Linked DNA regions of Homo sapiens: regions 1 and 2 are each linked to region 3. Evidence: promoter capture Hi-C in 16 types of primary human blood cells and fetal thymus (Javierre and others, 2016). All regions are on one chromosome and are shown on one strand. Each heading gives the region's core, a stretch centred on a gene start or on the middle of the fragment in contact. The rest is flanking DNA. Distances are from core to core; before and after follow the strand shown. Region 1 overlaps NDUFV2 (NADH:ubiquinone oxidoreductase core subunit V2). Region 2 overlaps GACAT2 (gastric cancer associated transcript 2). Region 3 holds the start of ZBTB14 (zinc finger and BTB domain containing 14).

Evidence for each region. The method cuts DNA at HindIII sites, captures the fragments that hold promoters and counts their contacts. A CHiCAGO score of 5 or more calls a contact.
Region 1: a contact is called between a fragment that was not itself captured here and the fragment with the promoter of ZBTB14 in region 3, in 1 of 17 cell types (total CD4 T cells). The highest score is 5.6, in total CD4 T cells.
Region 2: a contact is called between a fragment that was not itself captured here and the fragment with the promoter of ZBTB14 in region 3, in 1 of 17 cell types (activated CD4 T cells). The highest score is 5.4, in activated CD4 T cells.

The regions. Positions count from the first base shown.
Region 1 is chr18:9,115,281-9,119,805 of GRCh38, forward strand. It overlaps NDUFV2 (NADH:ubiquinone oxidoreductase core subunit V2), which reads left to right. Exons shown (of 8, transcript NM_021074.5): 2 at 2,558-2,623; 3 at 4,046-4,108; 4 at 4,194-4,310. Among named protein-coding and RNA genes, the nearest start is that of NDUFV2, 15 kb to the left of the region's middle. The HindIII fragment of the contact is 3,264 bases long and covers 222-3,485 here.
Region 2 is chr18:8,698,528-8,702,999 of GRCh38, forward strand. The region is part of intron 1 of GACAT2 (gastric cancer associated transcript 2); the gene reads right to left. Among named protein-coding and RNA genes, the nearest start is that of MTCL1, 4.8 kb to the right of the region's middle. The HindIII fragment of the contact is 4,632 bases long and covers 13-4,472 here.
Region 3 is chr18:5,293,394-5,297,402 of GRCh38, forward strand. ZBTB14 (zinc finger and BTB domain containing 14) reads right to left here and starts at 2,333. Exons shown (of 4, transcript NM_001243702.2): 1 at 2,259-2,333; 2 at 579-608. RefSeq lists enhancers at 916-1,603, 1,604-2,290, 2,979-3,664, 3,382-3,541 and silencers at 1,732-2,671, 2,752-3,171. The HindIII fragment of the contact is 2,257 bases long and covers 1,479-3,735 here.

The sequences.
Region 1 (4,525 bases), core at 604-3,103, 3.8 Mb after region 3:
TTTAATGTAATTGGGATGATAATTTATGCATTTTTGTTTTTTTTGTTTTGTTTAACCCTGATTCCAGTTTCTACATGATTATTTTTACGACATATTTTTGTTAGCTACATAACGTTCTAGTGTCAGAATTATTAGTATTTAGTTAAAACCTGCTCAGATTGGGTTTTTAGGTTGTGTTTTTGCTGCAATAAACATAATAGGAACAACATGTTTTCATGTAAAGCTTTATCCTCATTTTGTACTGCAGGAAAAATACCTAGGTTAGAATTACTAAATTAAAAAATGGACACTTGGGGCCAGGCGCAGTGGCTTACGCCTGTAATTCCACCACTTTGGGGAGCTGAGGCGGGCAGATCACTTGACATCGAGAGTTCAAGACCAGCCTGACCAACATGGAGAAACCCCGTCTCTACTAAAAATACAAAAAATTATCCAGACGTAGTGGCACATGCCTGTAATCTCAGCTACTTGGGAGGCTGAGGTAGGAGAATCGCTTGAACCCGGGAGGCAGAGGTTGTGGTGAGCCGAGATCATGCCATTGAACTCCAGCCTGGGCAACAAGAGCGAAACTCCGTCTCCAAAAAAAAAAAAAGACACTTATTTAGGCTTTCCATATATCATGGTAATTTGCTTTCTAAAAGGCTATATGAATTTTTAAGTGTGCTTGTTTCTCTATATGCTCAACAGAATGGAATGCTATCTTAAAAGAAAAAAGATACTTGGTAGTTTGATAACTAGTAATGTTATTTTAAGTTGTATGTTTTTAGTTACTAGTAAGCAGTTTGAATTCTGTGAAACTTTTGTTCATGATCTTTACTCATTTTTTAAGTGCATTTATGATCTCTTCAGGCTATTAGCCTCTTGTCATCAAATGTGTGTAAGATTTAAGACTCATCACTGTCAAGTTAATGGATGAGTTCTCAGAGGCAAAGGCTTTATAGAGAAAAGAAGATAGGAGTGTGAACTGAGCCCTGAGGACAGCCTGCAAGGAGTGGATAAAAAGCCAATAAACAGAAAATGTTAGTGTTCAGAAATTAGGAGAAGACTGAATACTTTCCCTACTCTTAAAATTAATCCTTTTATTATAAGTATACAGTCTTTTCTCTCAGAATTTAGTTAAGTAACTCACTGATGTTACTCAAAAATTGTTACTCGATTAAAAAAATTTTCTGAGCTAAGATGACAGTGACTGTCTTCTAAATTTTAGTTTCAGTTAATTTTTCAAAACAAAACCAACACAATCAAAGCCCCCTTGTGCACCTCTGACTGTATCCCTCCCTGCCTTCCAATTATCCTGAAATTGATATTTATCACTCCCATCTTTTGTACGTGTGTCTCACATCCTGTACCTTAGTCTTTTCTTGTTAATTAAAGCAGATGTTCCATGTAAACTTATTTATTAATATTTCTTCAACTGAAATATCATTTGGACCTAGGGTAAAGTTAAATATACTATTGTGTTATATTACTCCGTTTACTTTCTTCTATGTTTGCCTTTGAATTGTCCAACTCTTTGCTAGTTCCATGCTTGGTTTAACCCAGCCAGTGTTCTGCCGTCTGTGGTTAGTAGAACTCAGAAATTGGAGGAATCCAGAACAGTAGTTGAAATACTTGGGGGCGGGGGACAGGGTAGGAGTGGAGGGTAGGAGCAAGAGGGCAAAGAGAAATGAAATGCAGCTGAGAGAATAATCAGATTCCTTCCAAAGCAACTGAACATTGTCAGTCCGCATAGCATCATAAATAGCTTTCTGAAACTACTTTTTTTTTTTTTTTTGAGACGGAGCCTTGCTCTGCTGCTCAGGCTGGAGTGCGGTGGCGCGATCTCGGCTCACTGCAACCTCTGCCTCCCAGGTTCAGGCGATTCTCCTGCCTAAGCCTCCCGAGTAGCTGGGACTACCAGCGTGCGCCACCACGCCCAGCTAATTTTTGTGTTCTTAGTAGAGATGGGGTTTTACCATGTTGGCCAGGATGGTCTCGATCTCTTGACCTCGTGATCTCCTTGCCTTAGCCTCCCAAAGTGCTGGGATTACAGGCATGAACCACCACACCCGGCCAGAAACTACTTTTTACGGCTGGAGTTTCAGAACTAATTTAGTAAAGGATTGAAAAGGAAGGAGGATACAGTTGACTCATTTGTACAGAGTATATGACTCATTTGTACAGAATGAAAACATGTTTATGAAGGTTCACACTAAGTGAAAGCTGGCATCCAAGTTGATTCAGACAAAAGTGAAAGTCAAGAAGTTAATAGTACATTAATTCTCCAAATGCATGCCAGCAGAGCGTGGCAGGAAGGTACACAAGTCAGCAGATCTGGGTTGTCCTGGTTCTCCTATTGACTCGTGTGTGTGATGTTAGGTGGGTGAATCTTGGCTTTGAATCTCCATTTGTAAAATAACTCTCCTGAAATAGAGATGGATAGGGTAGAATACCATATTTCTTAAGATCTTTTATAAGTTGATTCCATTGTTGTAAATTATGAATCCTAAAGTATTTCTTTATGAAAAATTTTTTAAGGCTATGATTTACTAAACTTTCTTAAAATTTTAAATTTTAGGGAAGACATGTAAGGAATTTGCATAAGACAGTTATGCAAAATGGAGCTGGAGGAGCTTTATTTGTGGTAAGTAATTACTTAGATTTCTTTGGAAAGAAAAGACTTGGAAATTGGGGTAAATCCATTGTAAAAATCCAAAATATCTTAAATACCATTGTCTTTGATATATGATGGTCATCGTGAGAATTTACATACAGCTAATTGAATTTACTACATTTCAAAAGATGTTGGTTCCAGTTGAACCTCATGAGTTTAAATTAGTATCAGGAAAACTCTGGGAATAAGAATTTATTTCCAGTGAAATTACTGTGTGAGCCCTAACCTGATTCTCATCACACTTTGGGTTCTCAGTCATGTTGGCTTACTGAGAGTTTGGAGATTGTAACTTGTTGAATCCCAAAATGACACTAGTTTGAAACTCATGGATTTTAGTAATGTAGTAACTAGATTAGCAGCTGGTCTTTATATTTTTAGTTTCCGGAGTTTTAACTATAAATAGAAGTCTGTGAACTCCCCAGATTAGTTGCACAATTTGGAAAGGATAAGATATTATATCTCCCTTTTCTGACAAGGTGCTGTTTTCAGGGATTAATCTAGTATAAAGGCAATATAGTGGACTTGTGTGATGATTTAGAGTTAGTGGTGTAAGAAGTAGCTTCCTGCTATATATCAAGCATCAAATTGGCCACATATTTGAGATCATTGTCCAGAGTGTCTGTTTTCTTTCCTCTTTTGGCTTATGTCCTTTAAAAAGCAGAACTCCGAGAGTTAACATATCAAGAGATTCATTTCTGTATTCACCACACATACATAACATTAATTGATCGTAAGTGTTAATCTCAGTGTGACTCATTTGATTTCCTGTTGACATGCCATTTCTTGTCAGTTTTTGAAGAGGGCCTGCTTCTGCTCTTTTAAGAAGAGATAAAGCTTCTTGCTGTTGGCTATTATGGAAAACGTGGGAAAGAGATGGTGCTGTTTTTTTTTTTTTTTTTTTTTTTTTAAGATGGTCCTTTTGTACCCTCCTAAAGTAATGGGTCTTAACCCTTTTGGATCCCAGATCCCTTTGACAATCTGATAACCTTGCTTTTGGGAAAATACACATATGTTCACATTTAAAATTTTGTGTTTTAATTTCATAAAGGCTTCCAATAATTGGTAATGTTTTGGTAATTCTATCAGAAGATCTTACTCTCTAATGAAGCTGGATAACACTTTTTGTTGTTTGGGTTTTTTTGGTCCTAAAGGTACTTCTCTTATTCTTTAAATGGTCCTTTGTAAATTTTTAAATTCTGCTAACTTTACTTTGGTAATCATACTTATCAAATGTGTGTTTAGACATTCTTTTTGATGGAAGGATAGGGTGGTATATATCATGTTGGAATTAAAATGGAGAGATTAAACAATAAGTAATAGTATAGTAATGTACAGTGTCATTCACACTTGAGAGAATTTGGATAAGTCTGAAAAACTGTTTTTGTTGTGTAGCACAGAGATACTCCTGAGAATAACCCTGATACTCCATTTGATTTCACACCAGAAAACTATAAGGTATGGCTAAATTAACATTATAATTAATTTACCAAATAGGTAATATTTTCTAGATGTATAAAATGATGTTCTTTCTTTTATACAGAGGATAGAGGCAATTGTAAAAAACTATCCAGAAGGCCATAAAGCAGCAGCTGTTCTTCCAGTCCTGGATTTAGCCCAAAGGCAGAATGGGTGGTTGCCCATCTCTGCTATGAACAAGGTACTGGATTCATTTTTGCCTTAGTTCTAAAAGAGAAGAGATTGTGTATGATAATTTCCTTTTATAGAAATTACTCTGATCATCTCCAGTGTCAGAATCTAGGATTTTGGAGCCCTTTAGCCATTTGTATGTTTCCTTGAATTGTCTTTGTGTTTTTGTTCATTCCCTTAATGCATAGAGGTGATTTCTAACCTTGCAGGAAATAAGGAAGGCAT
Region 2 (4,472 bases), core at 1,079-3,578, 3.4 Mb after region 3:
TTCAATATATAAAGCTTAGGTACATATATACTACAAAATATATAATGAAGTAGTCAGATGCTCTACATAGAAGCAACTGCTAAAACACGGACAAATACAGGTGGGTTCTATTCATGACTCCAGTCCCTTGAGTGGCACTCCCTCAATGCAATGATCAAAGATAAAAAATGCATTGAAAATCTCCAAATAAAATGCAGTCTTTATTTTATTTTTATTTTCTTTGTGTTGTTTTGAAACAGACTCTCCCTTTCTCACCCAGTGCAGTGGTGCGATCTCGGCTCACTGCAACCTCCACCTCCTGGGTTCAAGTGATTCTCCTGCCTCACCCTCCCGAGTAGCTGGAATTACAGGCATGTGCCACCACATCCGGCTAATTTGTTGTATTTTCAGTAGAGATGGGGTTTCGCTATGTTAGGCAGGCTGGTCTCAAACTCCTGACCTCAAATGATCCACTGCCCTCGGCCTCCCAAAGTGCTGGGATTATAGGCGTGAGCCACTGTGCCCAGCCCAGTCTTGATTTCTACTGTGGTTTCATTCCTAAAAAAAAATTCAGTTGATGGTAAAACAACCCTAAAAACATACTGCTTTAGTATACATATATCAAAACAACACGGTGTACTCTGTCAATGTAATTATGATAATTATGATTTGTCAATTAATAGTTATATTAACTTTTAAAAAATATTTTAAAAACTTAAAAAATACTGCTTTATATGTAAAAGTATTGTGTTTATGTGTAAAACATGTACTTCTAGCCTTAGATAATGATAAACAGATTTTTTTACCCACGTGAATGTTTCAGAGGACTCTTACTTGGAAGTCCTGTAGCAGGAGAGATGACTCTTTTTTTTTTTCTTTTTCTGAGATGGAGTCTCACTCCATCACCCAGGCTGGAGTACAGTGGCGAGATCTCAGCTCACTGCAACCTCTGCCTCCTCGGTTCAAGCGACTCTCCCACCTCAGCCTCCCGAGTAGCTGGAATTACGGGCACATGCCACCATGACAGGCTAATTTTTGTATTTTTAGTAGAGACAGGGTTTCATCATGTTGGCCAGGCTGGTCTCAAACTCCTGGACTCAAGTGATCCACCACCTCAGCCACGCAAAGTGCTAGGATTACAAGTGTGAGTCACCTCATCCCGCCTAGGACGACCCTTCTCTGGGCACACTGCAAGATATCTAGCCCCCCTGACTATTCCCCTTCCCTCACTTAAATGCCAGTAGTGCCCTCCAATCCAGTTGTTATGACAAGAGAAAACACCCCAATATACGTCTAGAATGCTCCCTGTGGGTGCTTCCACCCCCATGAAGAACCACTGGTCAGGAGGGAAAGGGCCTCCTTACACCTTCACCTCTCTACTTCCTCTGGTTCTCATGTCACAGGGAGACTCCCCTGTTCTCCCAGCAGACTCTAGAGCACACCTTAGGTTGGGACTCTCTAGTTCAGATTTAAGTGAGCAAATATCCATCACCCAGCATCTCACATGCATAGAGGTGGGTCATCCCGCACAGTATTGGAAGGAGTTTTGAACAGAAATAGGAAGAACGCACATGACAAGCCATGTGACACTTGGACCTGTGTAGAAACACTAACACATGTGTCTGTGGTCTCAGCTACTTGGCAAGCTGAGGTGGGAGGATCACTGGAGCCCAGGATTTGGAGTCTGCAGTGAGCTATGATTGCACACTCTGCTCCAGCCTGGGTGACCAAGCAAAACCTTGTCTTTTTAAAAAAAAAAAAAAAAAAAAAAGAAGGAAGAGAGAAAAAAGAAACACTAACACAGTGTTTTTCAATGGGAAGTAAGATAATTACTTGCATCAAAAGTATTTGTTAAAAATACAGCCTTCCGGCCGGGCGTAGTGGCTCACACCTGTAATCCCAGCACTTTGGGACTCTGAGGCGTGCGGATCATTTGAGGTCAGGAGTTTGAGACCAGCCTGGCCAACATGGCGAAACCCTGTCTCTACTGAAAATACAAAAAATTAGCTGGGCGTGGTGGCGGATACCTGTAATCTCAGCTACTCAGGAGGCTGAGGCAGAAGAGTCGCTTGAGTCCAGGAGGCGGAGGTTGCAGTGAGCCAAGATCGTTCCACTGCACTTTAGCCTGGGCAACAGAACAAGATTCCACCTCAAAATAATAATAATAATAATAATAATAATAATAATAATAATAATACAGCTTTCTGGGCTCATATCTCTTAAATCAGATCCCTGGGGATGTGGCCAGATAATTTGCATTTTTAACAGTCTCACCAGGAGATTTTAATGACCTCAAGGTTTAAGAGCCTCTTAAGTTATTGTCATTGTCACCACCAATGCCATGCACAGCTGCCAATCTGGACATGAAGCCTTTTTCAGGTCCCATGTGGCATTTTGGCAATCACCCTTGCAAAGAGAGCTGGGAGGTCCCCACAGACCCCAGTGTTGGATGCAGACTCCAGCTTCAACCTTGGCGGGTGGTGGGGAGGCGGGGGGATCAGGCATTATTAGGTTGTCTCTTTTTAAGGTTAACTTTCTTGCAGTGCCCAAAAAGCCACTCACTCTGAAAAATTCCCTCTTCTTTCCATTCTTTTCAAAGAGTATGATTTCATGATTTCTCATGACTTCAACCAGGAATGCTTTCATATTTTAAATGTGCCTTTCTGTTAAAATAAGGGGAAAAACTGGAAGATACACATATGCCTGGGTTTGGACAATGTATTAAAGGTATAGAAATTCTGCATATAATTCTGCCTGGGAGTATAGAGTGAAGTATAGTCCTGAGTAAGTCACATTTTTTTTTTTGTCTATGAGTCAAACCAAGTAAAAAAAGAATTCATTTCTCTTTATATAACTGTATAGACACAGAATAGATTTCTAACTCTCTGAGTGAGAGTTTGGAATCTGAGTGAAAAATCTGGTTTGCTCATATTTTAAGAGTTTTGAAGATTATTTCACTGGTGTTAAATAATGATGATGATTCTGAAGATTATTTCACTGGTGTTAAATGATGATGATGACTTGATAACAATACCTTACCCAAGGCCACACAGACAGCAAATGACTTGGGCAGGATTTGAACCCAGATTTACCTGGTGTCAAAGCCTCAGGTCTTGTCACCATACCACACCGTTCTTGGACAAAGAGGTTGTGAACACAGCCACACAAACATTACTCATCACACCACTGCTGCACGCAGCTCCCTAGGACAGTATTTGGGCCTCTGCAGAGGAATGAGACGATGGGGCCCTGGGCCTTGTGCCAGCATTTACAATCCAGGGTTGCAATGCAGGGAATCAGCCACAGTGAAGCAACCCGGAGATCTGCAAGCACAGGAAGGCACCACCACCCTTGATACGAGGCAGTGGAGGACGAAAAGCTACCAGGAGGAGTAGTCCATCCAGTGATGGCTGGAACCTCAGAAATCCACTCCTCACAGAGACCCAGCCACTGCCAGAGAAGCCGCCTGCAGCAGAGAGAGTAAGAAATAACCTGGTTTCTTCCTTCTGGGTCCACTCCCATCTCCTGACGGCACCTCCACTGGCCAAACCCAATCAGCAAACCCAGCGGCCTGGAAACCCACACTTCCACTCACATCAGAGTAGCAGAGGGGCAAGACTGGATCTGAGGGCACGCAGATGAAAACAGGCACGCCCATGCTGGGTTTTGTTATTTCACAGAATAAGCACTCTATGGTTCCCTTAAATAGTAAATCCTCTATTACCTTTAGATTAATTTGATTTAACAGAAAAAGAATTTAAAATCAAGTATTTCCTTTCTTTGCTCCCTCCTTCCCTTCCTCCCTTCCCTTCCCTTCTTTCCCTCCCTCCCTCCCTGCCTCCTTCCCTCCCTTCCTTCCTTCCCATTTTTTTGAGACAGGGTTTCACTCCCATCACCCAGGCTGGAGTGCAGTGGCATGATCATGGCTCACTGCAACCTCCCCTCCTGGGCTTGAGGGAGCCTCCTGCCTCAGCCTCTCAAGTAGCTGGAACTACAGGTGTATGCCACCATGCCCAGCTTATTTTTGTATTTTTGTGTTTTTTTGGTAGAGACAGGATTTTGCCATGTTGCCCAGGCTGATCTCCAACTCCTGAGCTCAAGCTATCTGCCCACCTTGGCCTCCCAAAATGCTGGGATTACAGGCGTGAGCCACCACGCCTGGACCACTTTTTCTTTTTCTTTTCTTTTCTTTTTTTTTTTGAGTGACTTTAAAAAACATCTATTATGCAATCAGATATCTCTTTATACCTGTAACTCACTGAATACTGGAAAACAAAGAAGGCATTATTGGCTGGGCTGGGTGGTGCATGCCTGTAGTCCCAGCTACTTGGGAGGCTGAGGTGGGAAGATGGCTTAAGCCCAGGAAGTTTGACTTCAGTCTGGGCAACATAGCAAGACCCCATCTCTTAAAAAAAAAAAGGAAGAAAAAAGAAAAAAAAAGAGAAAGCATTGATTGAATACTTCCTTACAAAGGGCTAGTAGTCTCATTTGCC
Region 3 (4,009 bases), core at 1,083-3,582:
TTGATTTTTTAAAAATAAACTTTCTTGTTCCCTCTTTTGTGCATTTTCAGGTTGGGGAGAGTGGCAGGTAGGTAGCTGGTACATCAAGTGCAGTTCTGAACAGATATGGACTAGAACAGATAAGGGCTGTAGCACTCGGGCATAAAGGGGCTGTGCCCTAGGAACTGGAAGGAGGGGTTGGAGAACCATTAAGGGATTTCTCCTCACACACTAAGCTCATGTCCATATTTGTACAGAGATTGATGGCTACACAGATATAGAAAAAAACAAGTGCACCGTGCCCCCTACACCTATCCCATTTCCCGCTGGGTATGTTAGCCCTCTACATTTTTCTCTCGGCTCATACAAACCTATAGAAGTATATACCTTACAAATAAAGCTATAGAAGTACATAAACCCAACAGGTAACATGGGAGGAGAGGGAACAATGATTGCTTTTTCTTTCTGCACCTGTGTGATGTATTAATAGCATACACGTTTGTTTTTAAGATTGTATTTGATAAATCCAGGTGTTTTTACCTCTATCCCTACAATAAGGGTGAAAGAATTTCAGCTTTTTTGTGAGTTTTAACTCTTACCGGAAGAACTCCATCCTGCAGACCCATATCCTGAAAAACAAAAAGTTTCCTCTACTGAACAGTGACCACACAGATAAGTTGTTTGGTGTGGTAGGAGCAAAGGACTGGGCTGTAACAGTCTTACACAAAAACCATGGAACAAGACTCCAACCTGGAGACCAACACCTTGAAACCCATAATAAGCTCCTTCTAAAGAAAAGTGAACACACCGAGCTACCCAGCGTAGAAGCGGGATGTCTCATCTGAAGTTTGAGGTTAGGCAACATTTCCAAAAGATGATTCTGACTTGATCATTCTACGTGTTTCTGCCTCTCTATTCCCTAGAAGCACCCAGGCCTGTAATCATCCAGAGGCTAGGCAGCCCAGCAAAAACCTTACACTGTGACACTTACTACTGTTGTCACTAACTCGTCCTAGGGCTTGTGGGATAAAAGTGCATGGGACCAGAGAGAGGAGTGGCCTTAGACTAGCTATGACAACATATCAATGTGTTGTTGTTGTTTTGGCTAGTGTGTACTTGGCCACTCGCCCCTCTCCCCTCTCTCTCTCAAGATGTATGAGACCTGGAAGAGAGACCATGTGTGTCCAAAGCCGCCTCCTCCCCGCCCCGCCCCCCTTGCCATTGAGATGTCCAATTGCTCAGTTCAGGTGAGTCAAAACTGGAAGACAGCTGTTGCCAGCATCTGTGTAGGCAGGTGTAGGAAAAGACGTAGCCCCAACACCACCTTCATAATAAGGCTGCCCCTTCCTAATTGCTCTCCAAACTGCGGGCGCGCTAAGCCGCGTTACAGTGCAGGGAGCCGGGCTTCCCGCAAAGCCAAAAACTTACATAAGCAGCTGCAGCCGCCTCCCCTGCCCCGGGCAGCCCGACAATGGCGGCTGCACGACTTCCTTGTTGCAAGCTTGCAACTTCGGAGTCGGGAGGAAGCAGGGAGCCAAGCGCAGACCCAAGAAGCCCTCAAGGCGTATCGAGTCCTCCCTCTCAATTTCTTTGGGCCTGGGAGGTGGGGAGTGGAGGAGGCCGTTTGCACTCCTTCCCAGACAAAAGCTCCCAGCCTGGGAGCCAGGTGGTGAAAGGGCCACTTTCCCTTTCATAATCAGACGTCGAGCGCAGGCTTGGGACCGCGGCTCGGAGCGCGCAGGGAGGGACTGCGGCCCGCGGCGGCCCCGGCGGCGCGACGAGCGGGAGCGGGCGTGCGGCCGGCTCCGCAGCCCCGCGCCGCGCCGCGCCCCGCTCCGCCCGCGAGCCCGGAGCTCGCGCCCCGCGCACTCCCCGGCCAGCTCGCGCCGGGCCCTCCCCCGCCCTCCCGCGGCCGGGGGCGGGGGCGGCGCGCGGCCGGCTAACCCAAGCTCCGCGGGCGCACCCGGGAGTGCGTGCGCTGGGTCCCGGCCCCCTCCTCCGCCGGCGGCTGTAGGCGGCGCGGCGGGGCCCGCGGCTCGGAGGGGCGGCGCCCGGCGGGCCGCGCTCCGCGCTGGGTTCGGGCCGTCCCCACCCCCACCGCGGTGCACTGCGGCGGTGCGAGCGGGGGCGGCCATGAACTCGGCCGCCGAGGCTCTGCGAGCGCGCGCGCGGGGCCGCCGCCGCCTGGCCGCTCCCCGAGCCCGCTCGCCGGCCCGCGCGGCCCCCGGGGCGCCCCGGCCCCACGCCCAACCCTGGCCCACGCCCGTCCCCGCTCGCACCGCGCCGCGCCGCTGGCGGCCGCCGCACATCCTGGAGCTGGCTGGTGCCCCAGAGCTCGGCGAGAACGCGCGTCTTCCGGGCCGCCCCGCCAGCCGCCGGCCGCCCCCGCGCCCGCCTTGCGGACGGCCCCAGCCCCTTCCGCACCCTGGCCCGCGCTTACCTGCAGCCTGGCACAGGCACAGACACTGCCGTGGGTTCCCCGCGCTCGCTAGCAAACGCAGGCCGGGACCGGAGGGGCTCGGGGCGCGGGGGCACGGTGGGTGGCAGTGTGTTTTGGATTTTTTTTTGGAGTTTGGGGAGGGGGCGGGGTGGGGGAAATCGTGCACGTCCCTGATGGTAGCAGCCCTCCTCCTGCACGAGCACAGAATGTCTAGCCGGCCGTGAACACCCCCACCGCCCCCCCCTTCCCGTGCATGCGCGGTGCGGGCTGGGGGGAAGGCGCGCCGCCGGCTTGCGCAGGCACGGAACCCGACCGGGTCTCTAAGTGGGCGAGCAAAGAAAGGGTTAATCCGGGCCCTTGCCGACGCTTTCGTTGGAGACTACGGGGCCGCCCCCGGAGGGCCCTGGCCTGCGCACGCGCGCGCACGCGCGCGGCTTGGGGCGCGCGGAGCCCGCGCGCGGGAGAAGGAGTGGGCGGGGCAAGGGCGGGGCTTCGGGAGCCAGGGAACTTAAGCACGAGCGCTGCTCGCGGACACCCGCCCCGCCTCAAGCTCCCTCCCGCCCTGGTTCGTGGGCTTCCGCCCGCGCCCGGCGCCGGCGCAGCGCCGGGGACGCGGGAGCCAGCGCTCCCGTGCGTGTGCATGTGCGTGGGCCAGAGCCTCCCCCGGGCGCGCGCAGGCCGGGCGCTGAGGCTGCGGGGCTCTGCCGCGTCTCGGAGCGGGCGCCCCGGCCACTTTCGCCCTCCGCGCACACCGGCCGACACCGGGAGGCGCGCCCACGGGTCTGCGGTCTTGCCTCTTGCCGCCGGCACATTGAGTTTGTGGGGGAGTGGACGGTGCACAATAAACACTTGCAGAACAAATGGAAAAAGCGACGTCTTCGATTTGTAGTGTAAAGCGCAACCCCAGTTGCCCAGCAGAAAGGGATCACCCATAGGGCTTCGGAGCTAGTAGGTCCGCGCCCGGACACTCCAAGGAAAAGTCCAGGGGCTGGAGGCGGCGACCCGTCTGTGGCAGTCCAGACCCTGGACTCGATTCGGAGAGCTCTGATAACTTGGCTCTGTCCTTAACATCCCTGCTCAGCGCCAGTAATGGCTCCGTTGCTGTTGAACCACGTCGCCTTCCCTCTGACGCGGCGGCTGTGCCTGTGTCTGGCGTCGGGAGCTGGGAAGTCCCTCCCGCTCCCGCGTTTTCTGCTCACCGAGATGCAGGAGGCCGGACAGCAATGCCGCGCCGCCTTAGAGTCGCTCATGTTGCTTTACCTCACACGCGAAGTTTCCCCGAAACGCGTAATTTAATATCTAAAGATTAGAGCAGAAGCTTCCTCTTGGGCTTATTGAAGATGACATAAGATAGTGCTTGCAACAGGCACCTAAGTAAACATTTGGGAAATAATATGATGATTGGATGTGTTAATTTTCTAAAGGAAGTTCTATATGGCCTCAGTTGATTTTGTAATGTTAATTGACTTTGGTTTAACGTTCCCCAAGGCGACTTTATACGCATCTTTTTTGATGTTCACAAAAGCACCCAAGTTACGGCTTATATGGAGGAAATAGGATGGAAGAGACCGGTTGTAGAGTCAGACATAT